2 separate regions of the Homo sapiens genome follow, and region 2 is linked to region 1. Evidence: promoter capture Hi-C in human tissues and cell types (Jung and others, 2019). All regions are on one chromosome and are shown on one strand. The core of a region is centred on a gene start or on the middle of the fragment in contact, and the rest is flanking DNA. Distances in the headings are between cores, read along the strand shown. Region 1 holds the start of RBM22 (RNA binding motif protein 22). Region 2 overlaps AFAP1L1 (actin filament associated protein 1 like 1).

Evidence for each region. The method cuts DNA at HindIII sites, captures the fragments that hold promoters and counts their contacts. A contact is called where the count stands out against the background at its distance.
Region 2: a fragment that was not itself captured here is called in contact with the fragment with the promoter of RBM22 in region 1 in 1 of the 25 tissues and cell types used here (pancreas).

The regions. Positions count from the first base shown.
Region 1 is chr5:150,696,294-150,702,773 of GRCh38, forward strand. It overlaps RBM22 (RNA binding motif protein 22), which reads right to left and starts at 4,769. Exons shown (of 11, transcript NM_018047.3): 1 at 4,639-4,769; 2 at 4,151-4,204; 3 at 2,949-2,978; 4 at 2,206-2,338; 5 at 498-598; 6 at 240-412. The coding sequence starts at 4,692. RefSeq lists enhancers at 4,011-4,787, 4,788-5,564. The HindIII fragment of the contact is 5,081 bases long and covers 985-6,065 here.
Region 2 is chr5:149,337,263-149,343,973 of GRCh38, forward strand. It overlaps AFAP1L1 (actin filament associated protein 1 like 1), which reads left to right. Exons shown (of 19, transcript NM_152406.4): 19 at 2,745-6,375. The coding sequence ends at 2,768. Among named protein-coding and RNA genes, the nearest start is that of GRPEL2, 4.9 kb to the right of the region's middle. The HindIII fragment of the contact is 4,849 bases long and covers 1-4,503 here.

The DNA of each region.
Region 1 (6,480 bases), core at 3,519-6,018:
TGTTTAGGGTCAGCATCTATATTGTATGGCATAGCAATTTAGTTTCCAAGGCTCAATTGTAAGTAAAAACTACAATTTATTCATGCTCTTCTAAATTTCATAGTTCTAAGACATGAGGTATACCACATTAGTTGTATGACCTTTAGATTTTAAAGCAGAAACAGTTTAAGTTAGGACCTCCCACTTCTTAGATGAGAAATCATCTGAAAGCAAATACTGAAAATGAGGCTCGCTCTTGCCTGTATGGACATTCCTCTCCTCTCTTACACTCTCCTTTCACCCAGAAGGAGCAAATGTGGGGTCGATTCCTTTTGTAGTAGGGTGTGGTCCGGGCCAGTTTGAGCAGCATGTCACTGGTAGATGTGGCTTTCCCCAGCATGCCAACTGGCCGTGTTCCATCAGAGTTAGAAATCTAAGTGGGGATGACAAATTCAAAAGATAAATTATACAGACTGTGTCAATTCATTAGGATTTTTATCCAAAAAGTGGCAGCATACCTCTCTCTCCATATTCTGTGTATAGTACTCTTTGTTGACATCTGACTTTGGCATGTCATCTTTAAAAGACAATCCTGCGTCACGAACCTGGATGGGCAGGCCTGGTACAAAAAAAGAGGAAAAAGACCTCAGATGTATTTTAAAACATATCCATACTAACCATGCACACAGAATACATCATCTTTCCCTTCTCCTCTTTCCTATTTAGTACCAGAGACTTTACTATGTTTTTATTCAAACTCTTTAGCACCATCAGGTTACTTCTGCTACACAGCATGCTAAGAAATTGTCCAAATTCCTGAACTGTCAGGAAATTTGATGAAATTAATGCTTTAGAAAAAATCTTTTAGGCTGGGTGTGGTGGCTCATGCCTGTAATCCTAGCACTTTGCAAGGCTGGAGCTGACAGATAGCTTGAGTCCAGGAGTTCGAGACCAGCCTGGTCAACGTGGTGAAACCCCATTTCTACAAAAAATACAAAAATTAGCTGGGTGTGGTGGTATGCACCTGTAGTCCTAGCTACCCAGGAGGCTGAGGTGGATCACCTGAGCTTGGAAAGGTTAAGGCTGCAGTGAGCCATGACCATGCCACTGCACTCCAGCCTGGGCAACAGAGTGACACCCTGTCTCAAAAACAAAAAACAAAAAAATTATAAAAGAAAATTTTTAGATGAACAAACTGTGCCCATGGTCATATTCAACCTGTAAATTAGCTCCTAGTTTTTATTACAACATGATTTATTTAAAGTAAATGTAAAAGTGGTTTCTTTCTAGGTTAGTCTTACAGATCCTCTGGATAGTCACAGTCATCTAAGGGTCACTGTACTCCAGGACCAGACGCCTCCTTAACAAACATATAAATAATATTACATAAAATGTGGCCAGGACTCTGACTAGAAGAGTAACTCTAATGAACTTAACATACATAAACTCATATATTTTTCCCTTTCCTTTAATAGTAAAAACTCTTGTTGAAAAATTATCTTTCTGAAAAACAGTCACCTATGGTTAAAAAAAAAATTACTCCCAAAAGCAGTTACTCTGAAACAGTAGCAATATATCAGTTCTAACAACACAATTGAAATAAAAGTCTAAAGCACAATTAGGCTGGCTATAGTGGCTCTGGGAGGCCAAGGTGGGAGGACTGCTTGAGGCCAGAAGCTCAAAACCAGCCTGGGCAAAATAGTGACACACACACACACGTGCACTGGGTGTGGTGGTATACCAGGAGGCAGAGGCAAGAGGATCCCTTGAGCCCAGGAGTTCGAAGTTGCAGTGAGCTGTGATCACACCACTGTACTCTAGCCTGGGTGTCAGAGTGAGACCCTAACTCAAAAAATAAAATAAAATAAAGCACAATTACCCTGTGAGCTTCTGATTGGGATGGTGGAAAAAAGCTCTGGATCAAGAAAGAAGCCTAAGGCAAATAAATTATCTATCATAGGATCAACGCCTTTTACCTCACTTGGGCTACAGAGATGAAGGTTTAGGCCACTTTTGATTAATTCCCAACTTTTCCTTAAGTTCCTACTATTGTTCAGGACTCTAGAGTGGCCTAATTATGGTTCTTTTCCTGGGAAAAGCAGACCACGGCAGACATTCCAAAGTGAAATCAGAACCAGAGCTAGGGTGCGAAGTGGGAGACAAAAGACTGACTTGTAGTTTTAGGCACCTGCACACTTTCAGATTTATTGGACAGGTCAAACATACCATACTCTAGGTCTAAGAGGCAGGTCTGACAGACATTCTTCAATTTACTGCAGGTTTGGCACACTTCAGTCTTCTTGAAACGCATGCGGACTCCAGGGCACCAGCGAAACACTGTGAATGGCCTGGCACAGATCTGGAACACAAAGCAAGAGCCATAGAATGTCAATGGTCCTGATCTGGGCAATCTGGAGATCTGATAACAACGGGGCATTCAAAAAAGGATCCCTGAATGTAGGATTTAGAAGAGACCTTAGCAATCATCTAGTTGATTTGATGTTTCAATACAATTTTCAGCATCCTTCTCCAGCAAAAATTCAGAGTACAGAAATGAAATAGCCAAAGGGTCAAAGTTCTTCCCATCCTAGAGCTAAGCACCAATAATAATCTGAACCTTAATCTTTTTTAGGGGGAGTGGGGAGTGTCATGTAATTTTTTGAGAAGCTTCTGACAAGAATGACCTTCCTCCTCAGCTAAAATGCTCGAGTGGACAGTCATACACCACCTGGTGTACAAACTCCTCCAGTGCCCATCCACTGACACCGTAAGAATCTCTACATTAGAGGGTTCATTTTCTTACCTCCCACATAAACAGTTGCCAGCCAATGAATATATCAGTAATACATAAAAAGTTGTATAGCACTGATTTTTACTGGAAGACCTCAAAACTTAGTAAGCTGAAGGCTAATTTGGTAGAGAAAAGAAAAATGAAACAGAAATCATTACTCTTTAACAGACATACTTACTTTGCATTCCTTCCCATACTTTTCTTTGGTCTATAATAGAAAAAAAATAGAAAAGAACTGGAGTTACAGAAAGAAAAAAGCCAGATGTCTACTCTTTCCTTAAACATAACCCAAGAAATGTGTCTGGAAATCCCTGGCATCCTAGAGAGAGAAAAACAGCAACAACAAAACCCAAAACCCAACCTTTTTTGGGAAGAGGGTAGGGAACATACTATAACAACATATTATAAGTGATAACATCTCAAGAGTATATGGATCTGGGCTGGGTGGCAGTGGCTCACGCCTGTAATCCCAACACTTTGAGAGGCCAAGGTGGAAGGATTGCTTGAGCCCAGGAGTTCCAGACTAGCCTGGGCAACATAGCGAGATGCTGTCTCTACAGAAAAAAGAAATAGAGTATATGCATCTAATGCTAGGTAAGTGAGTGTCTTTCCACAGCCACAACTCTTAGGTTCATTTTTGGCTCCCAAGTTCACTCCCAAGAACTAACATTCCTAATGCTTTCCACAATCCCTAAATCAGAGAGGATACAGCTGTGGCCCGCCCACTTTACAAAGTTTAGTCAAAAGGTAGCTACTGTAGACTTGTCCTGTGCCAATGCCCGGAATATAGTAAATGTTCTGTTTAAACAGAACTATTCAAACATCTTGAACCATTCAAACATCGTGAACATACTAACATATCAACACCTCTACGACTACACAATAATACAGCCCTAACCTTATTATTGTTAACTGGTTCTAATTTTACCCTAGTTTGTAACAAAGGGGGAATGCTTACTTTAAAGAGATAAAGTACACTGGCCAAAAGGCATTTGACCAGGATTCAGGAAACCTAGTTTCTAGTTCTGGTTCTCCTCCTATCATGCTGACATTCCTAGAGCCAGAATATGTGAACTTAAATCCCAGCTCCATTCCTTACTATTGTATGAAAAGACACAAACGCTCTCACCTTCTGGTCAACAGACCTATTTCCTAGGTAAATGCTCAACAAATACTAGCTATCGTTATTACCCCTACATTACAGGAGTGTTACCGGATTCGTAAGAGAATACACATGACAGTTCTTTGCAAGTCGTCCAGCACTTCGCGTTAGTAAAAGAGCATCATTTTTTCTGCTTGTCTAAGAGAAACACTTCACAGTGTGCAAGTACCACAACATCGACAGGACATGAATAACTCGTTTCACACGCGATCACTCACCATTCGGATATATGGGTTTTCTCCAAGACATGTCTGGCACAGAATGGGGAAGTCCTGGTGAAAATGGGAAATCTGGTTGAGGACCACCCTCCGAAGACCCTGACACCTCAGTGACACTTGGGGTGGCGAGGGGGCGGGAAGCGAGGGTGGGGAACTAGGCACGGCAGGAACCCGAAGTCCATCACGACCCGATCGCGGGAGGGGGCGCTGTCTGCACTTCCGGCAGGCGGCGGGAGAAAAGAAAACCAGCTCTAATAGGCTGGAGGGGGCAGGGATGGAAAGGGTGCTGGTCCCGGGACCCTGGCTAAGCCCCCTCCCTTCAAGCCCGCAGGAGGATCGCCCTCCGCCCTCCTGCTCCGGCCAAGCTAGGCCGCCGCGCTGGCTCCTCCCCGGTATTCCTTCGGCCGCGCCGCAGGCCCTGTCCTGCCAGCTTGCAAGGTGCGCGGCTTCGCCTCCTCCTTCCATCCTCCTCCGGCAGGCACACTCACCGCATCCTCCCAGTTCTGCCTGTTGTAGGTGTTGGAACCCAGAGAGGTCGCCATCTTGAGAGCGTCCGGAGGTAGCTGTAGCTTCCGAATTGGGAGAGAGGACCGCCACAATCCCGTCAAGCCCCGAGGCTAGCGCCGCGCCGGTCGGCGTCTTATTTACGCGTCTAGGGCTTCTTCCGGGGCGGGGCCTTTGCGTCATGACGTCGCCCGCTCTTGGAATTTCTAAGCTTAACAATTGGGGTCCTGGTATAATGCACCTGGATGCTTCCTTCGAGTTTTTGCCTGCTTGGAATGAAGGGCCACACGTACAGTTGATTCATTTAACAATTGGGCGAAAGAATAAAGGAAGACGTAATGCATCAGAGGCTGGGGTTAAAATAGCGTTCGCTACCACTGAGGCGCTTATTATGCCAAACTCTGGGCGAACGTCTTGCGGTTCCAGTGTCTTATTTATTCGCATAACCTCTCTGTAGGGCTCTCTGTAGGGCTGCCAGATTCTGATTCTGTCTCTCTCTCTCTCTCTCTCTCTCTCTCTCTCTCTCTGTCACTCACACACACACATGCACACACACACACGCACGAATTACAGAACGTCTAAAGTTGAATTTCAGATTAACGGCGAATCGCTTTTTAATTATAAATATATATGGTACCTACTCGTCCTAAAGTAGGATTCGTGGTTGACCTGAAATTCACATCACTTAACCAATCGTCCTGTATTTTATCTGGTAACTCTACCCTGTAGGCAAGTATGATGATCCCTCTTTTATAGAAAAGAAAACAGGTTTAGAGAGATTAACCTAATCTCTCCTGATATAGCTCCTGGTTGTGGAGCTAAAAAGTGGTGAAGCCACAAATTCATTAGTACTGTTTCATTTCCAGCTTCTGAAATGACAAGGGTCTTACGAATCAACATATGCATTATTTGATTTTTGGAATAACTCATAACCACTCTGCCAATATTTTATGAGTTTCAAGCCATTCTGGTACCACTTTCATACTTACCGTGTCATCAAGCTACCTAACACATTTATTTAAATCACCTCATTAAAAAAAAAAGTTGATTTAAAGTATAATTTACATAAAGTTTTATCCTTTTTAGTTTTGAATTTTGTACATACATTCACTTACAGTCAAATATGGAATTGTCTGTCATCCCCAAAGTTCCCTTGTTTCTGTAGTTAGTCCACTTATCCCATACTCAAACCATGGCAATCACTAATTTGTGTTCTGTCCCTAGTTTTGCCTTTTCCAGAATGTCACATAAGTGGAATCCTATATATCCTTTTGGATCTGATATTTTTTCACTTAGTATTTTGTAGTTGAGATTCATCCATATTATTACATGTATCAATAATTTCTTCCTTTGTATTACTGAGTAGAATTCCATTGTATGGATATATCATACAATTCACTTGCCAGTTGCTGGATATTTGGGTTGTTCCCAGATTTTAGTGAATATAAATAAAACCATTATAAACATTCACATACAGATCGTTGTATGGACATTGGTTTTCATTTTGCTTGTGTAAATGCCTTAGAGTGAGATTATTTGATCATATGGTAAGTATATCTTTTCCTTTATAAGAAAGTCCTTGGGTTTATCTGAGCTTCTTGGATCTGTGATTTGTTGTCTTTTATTATATTTGGAAAATTCTCAAGTATCATCTCTTCAGACTGTCTTCTGCCTGGTTTCTACATCTGTGACTCCAATTTCACATGCCTTGTGAGGAGTGCAAGGTCAGAAATAACAGAGTCCACGTACATTTGTGTTTTTCCACAATGCCAGACTTTTACTGATGCTATTTCAATCACAAAAGCCACGAACTACATGGAGTTTCC
Region 2 (6,711 bases), core at 829-3,328, 1.4 Mb before region 1:
CATACTCGAAATTTGTTTTAAAAAGTCACTTTTTACTGTTCTCACCACACACACACACACAAATGATAACTAGGTGAGGTGAGATGTGTTAACTAAACTTGACTGTGATAATCATTTCACAATATGTCAAATCAAAAAAATAGTTCAAATTAGAAACATAATAAAAGGGGGAACACCCTATTTAAAGTAGTGGAAAACTCCAATTTCGTTCATTCAAGAAACACATATTAAGCACCTGCTAAATGCTTGACACTTCACTAAACACTCTTGAACATGTTCCTTCATTCCATCTTTGCAATAACCAAGTAAAGTGGGCATTCTTAGCCCCATTTCACAGCGGAGAAGACTGAAGTTTAAGTGGTAGATAAACCAGTGAACAAGACAGATGAGGTCCTGGTTTTCAAGGAACTTCCAAGCCAGTGAAAGGAGACAGATAATACATAAGTGCCCTGTTAATGTAAGAAGATAATTCCAGAAAGTGATACAACTACAAATATATACATATATATATACATATATATAGAAAGGGACAGAGACTGGGAGTAGGGTTGGAGCAATATACACAGTGGTCAGAGAGGGCCTCTCCTAGCAGTGACCCAAATGATGGGAAAGGAACATGAGAAGATCTAGAGCAGAAGCTTTCCAGCAAGAGGGGACAGCAGGTGCAAAAGCTCTCAAGCGTGCCTGATGGCCAGATGGAGGCCAGAGCAGCTGGAGCAAAGAGGGAAAGCGAGCGTGGAAACCATGAAGGGGGAAGAGGCAGGCAGTGCCTGATCATTTATGAGCTGAAATTGCATATCATATTAGAATACATTTAAAGGACAGCTGTTTATTAGCTTCATATCAACACTGCTGTGGGAATCGGCAACATTTTGTCTAGGATCACACCAGCACGGACTTTTAAAATGCATGGCTTGGCCAGGCACAGTGGCTCACACCTGTAATCCTAGCACTTTGGGTGGCTGAGGTGGGAGGATCCTTGAACCCAGGAGTTCGAGATCAGCCTGGGCAACATGGCGAAACCCTGTGTCTACAAAAACTACAAAAAAATTAGCCGGGTGTGGTGGCACATGCCTATAGTCCCAGCTACTCCATAGGCTGAGGTGGGAGGATCACTTGAGCCCAGTGGGAGGGGTGAGGCTACAGTGAGCCCTGATCACACCACTGCACTCCAGCCTAGATGACACTAAGTGAGACCCTGTCTCAAAAAAAGCATGGCTCTATGTCTAGGCTGGAGCTGCATCCTCAGGTTGGAATTGAATTTCAGAGCCTAAGAGGGAAGAGTCTTTATTCTTTCCTACAGTTAGTCATTAAACAAATATTTGTTGAAGACCTACCATATGCCAGTCTTGTTCTAGTTTCTGGTTACATAACAGGGAACCCAAAAAAGTCCCTGGTCTCATAGAGTTGGGAAGACAAGACTTTAAATACCACACATAAATAAAGAATGTGATGCCAGAGAAGATGAACGTCCCAAAGGGGCTTAAGCACAGTGATAGCAAAGACCCTTTCAAGAAGGTGACACATAGGCAGAGACCTGAATGGAGTGTGAGGGAGAAACCCATGCAGGGGGCTGAGGGAAGGACGAACCAGGCAGAGAGAAGAGCAAGTGTCAAGTCCCTGAAGTGGGAAAAAGCTTGGCATGTTTGAGGAACATCAAGAAGATCCAGGTGATTCCAGTGAAAGGAACAAAGAGTGAGCATTAGGAGATGAGATCAGAGAAGTAACCAGTGAGGGGCCAGATCATCTAGAGCAGCAGTCAGCAAACTTTTTCTGTAAAGGGCCAGAGAGTAAATAGTTTAGGCTTTCTGAACCATATGATCTGTTCCACAGCCTCTCAACTCTGCCATTGTCGCATGAAAATAGCCATGGACAATATGAAAATGATGATGAAAATGGCTGTGTCCCAATAAAGCTTTTTTTTTTTTTTTTTTTTGAGACGGAGTCTCGCTCTGTCACCCAGGCTGGAGTGCAGTGGTATGATCTTGGCTCACTGCAACCACTGCAACCTCCACCTCCCAGGTTCAAGCAATTCTCCTGCCTTAGCCTCCTGTGTAGCTGGGATTACAGGTGCACAACACCACACTCGGCTAATTTTTTTGTATTTTTAGTAGAGACGGGGGGTTTCACCATGTTGGTCAGGTTGGTCTCGAACTCCTGACCTCGTGATCCGCCCACCTCGGCCTCCCAAAGTGCTGGGATTACAGGCATGAGCCACGGCACCTAGCCCAATAAAACTTATTTACAGGCACTGAAATTTGAATTTCGTATCATTTTCATGTGTCATGAGATAGTCGTCTTCTTTTGATTTTTTTTTCCAAACATTTAGAAATAGGAGCTGATGGATTATATGAGAATGGACAATAGGCCAGACTTGGCCCACAGACTATCATTTACCAGCCTTTCATCTAAAGCCTTTCAGGCCACTGAGGAACCATGGATCTTGTTCTAACATAATGGATCTTGTTGTGACATGATGGAAGGTTTTGAGCAAAGGGTTTTGGATATAAATTACATTTTTTAAAGACCATTCAGGCAACTATGTTGAGAATGGATGAAGGGACAAGAGATACCAGCATGGAGAAGTGACTTACTCAGGGCCACAGAAAGAGAGAGAGGGGGTTAGAACCCAACGCAACCTGGCTAGTGGAGATCTTCATCTAACTAGGTGCCGTGAAATCTCTTTATCCATGTCACACTAGACCATTCAGCAAATTGATTTGTCTTCTCTTTCTGTGCTTCAGGAATGGGAAATGAAGAAGACCTAGGAAGAGGATGAGGATTTCATTCCAAAGGAAATACCAGCTTGTCCACCTGAGGAAGAAATGCTTTTTTCACAAGGAGACACCAAGAGAAGACTAGGAAGTAGCCCTCGTTCTCCAGGGCACCCAAAATACCAGCCTTTATTGTCTGCATGATTTTAGGGGATATGGGGAGGGAACAAGTAGAAGGGAAGAGGGAAATGGAGAGCATCCTTATGACTTTACAAAGGGTGGAAATGAGGATGGAGGGATACAGAAGTCTGCACAGCTGTAAAGGTTTTATAGATGTCTTTGCCTTCCCTTCTGAGGAAGGGAAGAAGTAATGAAAGCACATGTGAATAACCCCTTCCATCCCATTCACAGCATCGCACTCCCAGTCCTTAAGGCAAAGGGAGGCAGTGCTGAAGCATTGGTGGTGCAGTGTAAAGAGACAAGACCTGATCATCTGATCACACTTGTGCCAACTTGATTCATATTGGGCATTACTAACAACCCCTGGTCAAGGTAAATAGGTTGAACAATCAATAACATTATCCCTGCCTGCATACATGTGAACAAAAGCTATAGAGGACATGCAAATTCTACAGTCATTCCTCATATGCTTTAGACAGAGTGCAGCTACTGGAATCTTCCAGATTTCAGTGTTTTAAAATCAGAGCTCTGAATACACAAAAGGAAAGAGAAATGGAGCAGCTGACATATTTTAAGCTCACAGTGATACTCAGTGACAGGAGCACAGAGCTCTAATGTCCACAGGATGTTGTAGGGTAGGGTCTCTCAGTAAATCAAGTCCCTTACCTATGTTCTGACACTGAGGCTCTTGGAGCTATGGGTTAGAAATCCAGGAGGCAATATGTCTTTATTCTAATGAAGTCCTCATCTTGCACTCAGAGGCCCACTAGTTTGCCCTTCTATATATTAAGTAAAACCAAGAGAAATTAAGAGGATGATGGCTTCTTTCTGTCACATGGGTGCTAAACCTTTTACAAACACTTGATACTTCTATAGAGGGACCAAGGACCTCAAGTCCTGGGCAGTCTCCTTACTGTGCTACTCACTACTGTCTCAACACTGTAGTGAGTCTGTCTTTAACACATTTCCTTCCAATAAAGATAAAACCACTTAACTCTTAAGTGCCAGTGCTTAGCTCAAGAGGAAAGAAGGAAAATCCCAGAATAACCGTGGCCACTTTGCTATAGGGGTTACATATTTTAACCCACCTAAGGTTTTACAGACTTTAGCCTCACTCAAACTTTATCACCCTCTGAGGTAGCTGGAGACCACAGCAGGAAAAATAACCTGACCAGTAATCACCCACTGATTAGTGGCAGAGCGTAGGACTTAGGGGTTATAAGCCCAGATCCAGATAGGGCTAGGTTTGAGCCATGCCTCTAATGACCAGCTGGGTGACCTTGGGAAAGTCACTTGATTGCTCTGATTCTTGTTTTCCTTATCTGTGAAATGGGACTAACAATTGTTACTTTTCTCCCAAGATTGTTGGGAAGATTTAATAAGATAATATATAGTAGGCATCTTGCATAGTGTCTGAGAAATAAGAAATGCTCAGTCAATAGTGGCTCTCATTAGCCAGGCATGGTGGTACTCGCCTGTAGTCCCAGCTACTCAGGAGGCTGAGGCAGGAGGACCGCTTGAGCCCAGGAGTTTGAGACTGTAGTGCACTATGATCACGCCTGTGAATTGCCACTGCACTCCAGCCTAAGCAAATAGCAAGACCCCATCTATTAAAAAAAAAAAGTGGCTATTATTAGCTATATCAGAAATGTCTGACTCACAAGCCTGTGTTCTTTCCACTGAAGAGGAAATTACTTTTCAGTGTTCTTTTTTAAAACGTGGATCCTGAAATGTCACCTAACTCTCCAACTATGTCTTCAGTGTCTGTCATACTCTTTCTTATGCAGTTATTTTGGGGTTAAGTGTCTTTTCTCACCAACAGATGAACTCTCAGAGGAGTGGCTGGGGGTAATTAATAATTAACATTTATCAAGCACTCACCATATGTCAGGCACTGTGTCAGCCATGGCCAGCTTCACAGGCATGCAACCTGTGCAGTCACACAGGGCCCCATGCTTAGAAGGGCCCTGTTCTTGGTTTAATGCTCTACTATTGCCTTCTTAATCATATTTGAACAAGGAGTTCTGCTTTTCCTTTTGCCCTTTAAATTAGATAGCCAGTCCTGGTGCTAACTAACCACTTTTCTAGGTATTATCCCTTTAGTTTTCACTGAAACCCTGAGATAAGTTATATTGCCCTAGTTTTCACAGTTCAGGAAATGGAAGCTCACAGAGGTCAGGTAACTTGTCCAAGCTCCCATAGTTCTTATATTTACATGCTGGTGGAGCCAGCATGTGAATATAAGAAGTCTGACCCTAGAGCCTTATTCTTAATTTTAAAGCTCTATGTCATCCATATATCTCCCTCCCCTTGTACTGCAACATTCAGAAGCACACTAGCACTTAATAAATAGACGAATGAATGCATGGATGCAAGCAGCAACCTGGTGAACGTTAGGCAGCTAGGAGAAATGTAAGCAAAATGGCTAAGGCACAGATGCCACTTGTTCTTGGTTGTTAAAATGCCTTGTTTAGGCCAGGTATGGTGGCTCATGCCTGTAATCCCAGCACTTTGGGAGGCCGAAGCGGGTGGATCACTTGAGGTCAGGAGTTCAAGACCAGCCTGGCCAACATGGCAAAACCCCATCTCTATCAAAAATACAAAAGTTAGCTGGGCACGGTGGCACATGCCGGTAGTCCCAGCTACTTGGGAGGCTGAGGGAGGAGAATCACTTGAACCCGGGAGGTGGAGGTTGCAGTGAGCCGAGATCGCACCACTGCACTCCAGCCTGGGCAATAGCAAGACTCCATCTCAAAAAAAAAAAAATGCCTTATTTGGTTGTGTTTTTTCAAAGTGTAAGCCACAGGTCTAAGCCCAACACTGCCAAGTGTTCAGTCTGTCAGAATTCTACTGTCACTGTTTCCTTATTGCGGGATCTTGCATAGGTTTACCAACCTTTCTGAGCCTCAATTTTCTCATATGTAAAAGAGAATCATAATACCTCCCTAAACCATATCACCCTTTTCATAAGGCCAAAAAGAAAATATAAGTTATTGGTCATGACACATTTGAGTTGGACCTCGGATTAGATAAAAAGATGAAAATACTCCAGCTCTGTCCTCATGGAACTCAGAGACAAGCAGGAAAGAAAATGTGACCCAAATAACTACAGTACAAATAACCCATGTTATGACAAGATTCAGAGTGCTCAAGGAACACTTCCCATTCCCTTAAAAAAAAAAATTAAGGGACTATCCAGTAACTAAGCTGGCAACTCCAAGTGCCCTGGACCCCAGTCACCAATCCATCCTCTCAGTCTGTCAGCTTTCCATCCTAAATCTCTAAAATTCATCCATATCTTCCTATCTTCACTGACACTATCCAACTTAATTAAGTCATTCAACAAATACTTGAGTACCTACTATACTAGATGTCAGAAATCAGTGGTGAACAAGACAGACACCTCATGAAGCTCACATTCTAGTTGGAGGAAAAAACCTTAACAAGGAAGCAAAAGAAATAAAATACTAAGAAACTAAAAGGGTGCTGGACACAGTTACTTTACAGTGGTTAGGAAGGTCTCTCTCTGTTCTTCCAGGACAGAATATAGCCCCATCTTGCCTGGGCTACTGCAACATATTGCCTTCCCTACCTCTTTTCTTACACCTTGCAATCTGCTTCACACAGCAGTCAAAGTGACTCTTTAAACATGAAAGCCTTTGTCACATGTTCCCTGTCAATCTAAAATAATTTAAAAGGTCAGAATCTAGTTTAAAGAGAGTTTATTCAAGCACAAAGGTTGAGGATGGCCTGCCCAGGAAGCACAGAATGGAAAAATATGTCTGTCTTAAAAAAGATGGAAGTCAGTGTTCCAAAG